Linked DNA regions of Homo sapiens: region 1 is linked to region 2. Evidence: promoter capture Hi-C in 16 types of primary human blood cells and fetal thymus (Javierre and others, 2016). All regions are on one chromosome and are shown on one strand. Each heading gives the region's core, a stretch centred on a gene start or on the middle of the fragment in contact. The rest is flanking DNA. Distances are from core to core; before and after follow the strand shown. Region 1 holds the start of KPNA6 (karyopherin subunit alpha 6). Region 2 holds the start of LCK (LCK proto-oncogene, Src family tyrosine kinase).

Region 1 (3,363 bases), core at 689-3,188, 140 kb after region 2:
GGACTCCTTCAGTTTCGTTCAGAAAAAGGATTTCAAAGTGGCCGGGCATGGTGGCTCACGCTTGTAATCTCAGCACTTTGGAAGGCGAGGCGGGAGGATCACGAGGTCAGGAGATCAAGACCATCCTGGCTAACACGGTGAAACCCCGTCTCCACTAAAAATACAAAAAAATACAAAAAAAATTATCCAGGCGTGGTGGCGGGCACCTGTAGTCCCAACTACTCGGGAGGCTGAGGCAGGAGAATGGCGTGAACCCGGGAAGGTGGTAGTTGCAGTGAGCCGAGATCGCGCCAATGCACTCCAGCCTGGGCAACAGAGCCAGACTCCGTCTCAAAAAAAAAAAAAAGATTTCATAATGGGCCCACATGCAAAAACAAAAAGCAAAACAAAACAAAATAAACAAACAGAAAACCCAAACACATTTACAACTTTGCCTAGGGTTAAAAGCTTTTTTCCCCTTTTCTCCCTGCCCAACCACTAGAGGGCCAGGTCATTTAAAAAAAAAAACAAAACAAAAAAACAGGCTGGACGCAGTGGCTCACACCTGTAATCCCAGCACTTTGGGAGGCCGAGGCAGGCGAATCACTTGAGGTCAGGGGTTCGAGACCAGCCTGGCCAACATGACGAAACCCTGTCTCTACCAAAAACACACAAAAATCAGCCGGGCGTGGTGGTGGGTGCCTGTAATCCCAGCTACTCGGGAGGCTGAGGCAGGAGAATCGCTTGAACCCGGGAGGCAGGAGGTTGCAGTGAGCCGAGATCGCGTCACTGCACTCCAGCCTGGGCGACAGAGCAAGACTCTATCAACAACAACAACAAACAGCAGTTACAAACTAGGCTTGGGAGTGTTCACCCTGGCTTAGCCACTGCATGACCTTGGGTAAGTTACTTTACCTCTCTAAAGCTCAGCTTCCACATCTGTAAAATGGCAATGGTAGCATCTATTTCCTTAGGTTGTACAAATTAAGTAAAACAAGACATGTAAAGCAATCAGAACAATGCCCGTACGTAGAAAGAGCTTAGCAAATTTCACAATTTTTACTGCTTTAGAGGAATTACCACTGTTGGTTCTGTCTCTAAATCCAAAGACTTCGCCATGGTATTCTCTCTGAACAGAGGCCTTGCCAGCCGGAGTCCCCTCAGAAAGATCAACAGGTCGCTCCTTTTCTCCTTACCAGGGCCAGCCCAGAAACCTAAAGTCCTCAACCTAAAGATGGCCAAGAGGACTTGGCCTTTGGTGTTCTACCATCACAAGCGATGCCACTCTGAGCCCAACCGAACCACACTATTTCCGCCTTGATTCCGTTCTCCCGGCCTTCAGCGGCGCAAGCTGCCCTCGGCCTGGCTGCCCATGCTTACCGGCCTAGTGCTGGCTCGCCTGACGTCCCCTCACTAGAGGACTCCACCTCGCTACGTAGGTAGGACTTCCCTGAGTTCAGGGGAGCCACTGAATCTAGTCAAGACACGCGTTGGCCAAACACAACCCAGGAGAAAGCTACCTTAGCGCCGCCCAGGCCTGCCGCCGGGAGCCCGTCCCCCAGCCCCAGTCTGGGCGCAGGACAGAGAGTAGGCCCCTTTCTACCTCCCAGGAACACGTGGGCTCCTGCCCGAGGCCACCATGTGGGGGGCTCCAGGCGTGCCAAGGTGTCCCCGAAACCAGCACCAAAGGACTGCTTCCAGCACGGGCCCTAGCTCGGCCCAAAACTGGCAAGAGGGGCACTCCCGGCCTGACTTTTCCCCTCAGACCTAGCTAGAGGGGATGCAGACATCTTCCGCAGACCGGAGACAGGCTCTCGCCAAATCCCAGGCCCCGACACTCCCTGAGCCCAAGAACCCTACTGCGTGGTTTCCTCACTCACCCATCGCGGGTCCGCTCGCTCACTCTTGGCGGCGGAGGCAACGGCGGCAGCTTCAGCGGCAGCTTTCAGTAGACAATATGGCGGATCTGTAGGACGGCAGCCCGAAAGGGACAAACCAGTTAACTCCAGGACGAAACGCTTTATTGGCCCAATCGCCTATCATTACACCGAAAGTGCGCACTTAAAGAGACCGCAGCTACTAAAGGTGGGGAGTGGAAATGAAATAGGAAAGGAGTGGTTGGGAGGAGACTGGAAGGGATACCTAAGAAAGTTAAGTGTGTCTAGGAGTTCCCAGCTGTTTCTGCTACTATTTCTTTTTTATAGTGAGATTTCTTTACCCGGAACTTTTTCTCCCAGAAGCTTATCCCTCCTTTTTTTTTTTTTTTTTTTTTTTTTTTTTTTGAGACGCAGTCTCGCTCTTGTCCCCCCAGGCTGGAGTGCGATGGCGCGATCTCGGCTCACTGCACACTCTGCCTCCCGAGTTCAAGCGATTCTCCTGCCTCGGCCCCCCGAGTAGCTGGGATTACAGGCGCCTGCCACCACGCCTGGCTAATTTTTGTATTTTTACTAGAGACGGTGTTTCAACCATGTTGGCTAGGCTGGTCTTGAACTCCTTACCTCAGGTGATCCGCCCGCCCCCAAAGTGCTGGGATTACAGGCTTGAGCCACCGCTCCGGGCCAGTTTATCCCTTCTTCTAATAGTTGAAACCAATCGGCTGGGCGCTGTGGCTCACGCCTGTAATCCCAGCACTTTGGGTAGGCCGAGGCGGGCGGATCACCTGAGATCAGGAGTTCGAGACCAGCCTGCCCATGGTCTCTACTAAAAATACAAAAATTAGCTGGGTGTGGTGGCGCATGCCTGTAATCTACTTGGGAGGCTGAGGCAGGAGAATTGCTTTAACCCGGGAGGCAGAGGTTGCAGTGAGCCGAGATTGTGCCACTGCATTCCAGCCTGGGAGACAAGAGCAAAACTCCGTCTCTAAAAACAAAAACAGCAATCATAGACCTTGGGCTGAATATGAACAACGAATCATCTAGAGAGGGGAAGTGCCTTGCTCAATGAGGCTATGGAGAGAAGGAAACAAAGAAGTAAGACTAAACTCAGGTTTTCTGATTAGGCCTACGTAGGTAGCCCTAGTTGAGGTTGCAATCTTATTGGGAGATGAGAAATAGAAAAATAGGGCTGGGTGTGGTGGTTCACGCTTGTCTATAATCCTAACACTTTGGGAAGCTGAGGCCAGAGAATCACTTGAGGCCAGGAGCTCAAGACCAGACTGGGCAACACAGTGAGACCCCATCTCCACAAAAAATAAATTAAAAGAAAAAAATTAGCCAGGCATGGTAATGAGCACTTGTACTTGGGCGGCTGAGGCGAGAGGATCACTTGAGTCCGGGAGGTCAAGGCTGCAGTGCCATGACTGTGTCACTATACTCCAGGTTGGGTGATAGAGTGAGACCCTGTCTCTAAAAAAAAAAAAAAGAGAGAGAGAGAGAGAGAAAGAAA
Region 2 (3,235 bases), core at 729-3,228:
CAGGCACCTGCCACCACGCTCGGCTAATTTTGCATTTTTAACGAAGACAGGGTTTCACCATGTCGGCCAGCCTGGTCTCAAGCTCCTGGCCTCAAATGATCTGCCCGCCTCAGCCTCCCAAAGTGCTGGGATTACAGGTGTGAGCCACCGTGCCCAGCTTGATTATTGCCTCTTTACAGATAAGTAAACTGAAGCTCAGAGAGAGAGATGAAGCCACTTGCTCAAGGAAATGGTCCAGCGGAATTGTGACTGGGTCGGCCTGTCTCTGAAATGCACATTCTCTGCTCCACACCACACCTGTGGGCTCTCTGGCCTTTGGTCTTGCTCTGAGGTCTCTGCCCTCGTGGTACCCAAGGAACAGAATCCAGGGATAGTGACCTTGGCTTCATGTCCTACGCACTCTTGAAAATGGGTCTTTCTCCTTCTCAGAACTGTCTTGACTCTTGCAGGAAGCTTTCCAGATCTTAAGAGACACCTTCTCCCCTCCTCTGAACCAATGCTCAGCCTGTTCTTGGCCCTTGTCCACTTGGCCCTTCTCTCTTTGAGAAGAGCCTCTGTTCCTGGGGCCCAAGAGCAAGGGACCCTGTCTGATTCGTCTGTCAGCATAGGGCTGGGTGGAAGGAACTGCTCATGCCTGTCCAGGGTGAATGACCCTCCCTGAAGTGCGAGGAGAGCCACCATGTTCCCTAGCCCCCACAAGAGGCTACAGGACTTGGAGCTGTAGACAGGAGAAAGGCTGGGACCAGCTGACTAGGCGGAAAGTGTGTGTCAAGAAAAACTCCAACGAAGCAGGGGAAACCTGGAAATCTGGCTGAGTGAGGACTTCCCAAAAAAATTAAGGCTCAGAGTTAAAAAGTGAGGAGGTGAGCAGGTAGCAACTATGCCTCCCCAGTCTCTCTCCACCTCCCTGGGGTTTGAAGCAGGAATCAGCAAAACCAACTGGCCCTACACAGGCAGGGCTGAAGCGGGAGGGAGCCAGGGGCGAGGGGAGGACATCCTGCTGTGACGCTTGGCAGGGGCAGGAATGGTGACTTTCCAGATGGAAGTTCAGCGCTTCCTCACCCAGGACCAACTGCACCCCTGTCTGGGATAAAAATAGTACTTCCTCTTCCTTTCTCCCATCATTCTCTTTCACTTCCAACTTCCCATACTCAGATCAGATATGTCCATCCACCCTGGAGCTCCATCCCAGATGATGGACACCCCCACACATATCAGTTCACGCCCATCAGGAGATTCTTCCCTCGATCGCTGAGGCTAAAATCACTCCTCGCATGTCCATCTGGATGCCTTGGGTGATCTCTGTCTCTCTCTCTCTCTCTCTCTCTCTCTCTCTCTCTCTCTCTCTTTCTCAGGAGATTCTTGTCACTGGGGTCTGCCCCAGAAACCAGAAGGATTCCTGGGTCCTCTGAGTCCAGCCTGTCCATCACCCTGCTCCAGGCGGGGTGGCCACAGCCTCAGCCATCACTCTCAGCCCTGCCACTGCCTTGCTGAGAAACCGTGGGCAGTGAGTGCCTTGTTCTCTCTGGGCCTCAGGAGCCTCATCCTCATGGCCTGAGGGACTGGGCTTGGTGGTTTCTGGAAGCCTTTTTAACACCTGACTGTCCATGTGCCTGGTGTCCAGGAAACACGCTCCCAGTCAGGTGGGGCCACTGGTGGACAGCACGACAGAGGCAAGCGACACCAGCTTCGCAGGAAAGAGGCGACCCAGCTACACTGCCTGCCTCCCACCTGACCTTGAGCGAGGATCTTCTCTCCCCAGCCACAAAGGGCTGCTGCATCCCTAGGGAGCCTGGGCCCGCACAGCTGCAGCCGTCTGCTATCAGGCCTCTCACCCCGGCGCCTGCGCCCCCAATACCAGCGCTCCTTACCTGCCCAGCCCGGGAGCCCTCTGGCCCCATTCACATGGTCCTCCTGGCCTAACCTGGCTGCCTGGACAGTCTCAGCTCCCTTCGCCGTCGTAGCCACCACCTGTCTCCCCGCGCCCACGTCCCACCCTGACTTCCTGCCTCCTCCGGAGGGCTCCGCAGCCAACCGGGCCCCAGCAGCCCAACCACAACCCTCTAGCACGCCAAGCTTCCTGCCACCATAGACCCCTGCCTCTCAGCCCCTGGGGGTCCCCTACATCTCCAGACCAGGTCCATCTTCCCCTACTGTCCCAGGGTGACACTGGGAGGTTTAAAGTTGAGGGGAGGATGTCTGATAGACCCTCCCTTCTGCCCTCCAGGGTGCATCTGGGCAAGAGATTCAAGGGCAGCCTTTGGGCCCAGTGAGCAGGGGGCAAGCGGACACACACTCAGCTTATGGTGAGAGGCAAACAGCACCTCAGCACCACCGTTGCAGCTGAGAGACCCTTTTGTTTCTGTCTGGCAGCAAAGGTAGCATCGTTCAGAGTCAGAGGAGAGGACAATATCCCTGTTAAATAGCTGGTGAGCAGACCATGCATGTTACAGTCAGGTCAGGCCGAGAGAACAATTCCCATGTCATCTCAGGGCATGGAACAGTAGCTTTATTATAGTCAAGGGTAGGTGAATGGCAGGCTACCATCCCTCTTACAGACAGAATGCTGGAAAACAGCCTGTTTCAGGAGGCAGACAGGACAACCTCATGTCTTCAAGAGGGCATAGTAACGGCCCCTGCTGTAGTCAGAGGCCAGGACAACACCCATTAATCATGGTTGGAGAGTAGGGCAACAGTTCGAATTCAGGTAGAGGCAAGGCCACAGCCCCTGGCAGAGGTGGAGGGCTTGGCACTATCTCCTGCAACAGGTGGAAGACAGAGCAAACAGGGCCGCTCAGGCCCCCAGGTGCAGGCCACAGACTGTCAGGACTTTCTGTTATAAGCAGGAGGCAAGAAGATTGTCACGAGCAGCAGGCAGGCAAAGAATTTCCATTTCCCCTGGGGCCAGGCTGAGGGGGCACCCATCATTAGCTGAGGGCCAGGTCACCAGTGATATGAGGAACTCCAGGTGGCCTCATCAGGTCCAAGAACTCGGCCTTGACCCCACCAGGAGGAAAGTGCACATGCGTCACTGCCTGAGTGAGCTGGTAGGGGGAGGGGAACCCACAGAGCATTGTTGGGGCTTGTGAGGTGGAAGCGATGCTGTGTGCACCTCAGCTGCAGAGAGAAGTGGGGGCAGGAAATAGGTGGGGGGAAGAGGAAGCCTGAGTTGGAAAGTCAGACAAAGAGGGTAACACAGAAACAAAGGCTGAGAGAGACAAAGTGAAAAACCTTC

Evidence for each region. Contacts are between HindIII fragments. The CHiCAGO score rates a contact against its expected background, and 5 or more counts as called.
Region 1: the fragment with the promoter of KPNA6 here is called in contact with the fragment with the promoter of LCK in region 2 in 1 of 17 cell types (naive CD4 T cells); the score reaches 5.6 in naive CD4 T cells.

What each region holds. Positions count from the first base shown.
Region 1 is chr1:32,106,631-32,109,993 of GRCh38, reverse strand. KPNA6 (karyopherin subunit alpha 6) reads right to left here and starts at 1,938. Exons shown (of 14, transcript NM_012316.5): 1 at 1,860-1,938. The coding sequence starts at 1,863. RefSeq lists enhancers at 1,208-1,725, 1,683-2,112, 1,726-2,244. The HindIII fragment of the contact is 1,772 bases long and covers 450-2,221 here.
Region 2 is chr1:32,250,008-32,253,242 of GRCh38, reverse strand. LCK (LCK proto-oncogene, Src family tyrosine kinase) reads right to left here and starts at 1,978. Exons shown (of 13, transcript NM_005356.5): 1 at 1,872-1,978. RefSeq lists enhancers at 2,626-2,715, 2,766-2,975, 3,166-3,235. The HindIII fragment of the contact is 1,623 bases long and covers 456-2,078 here.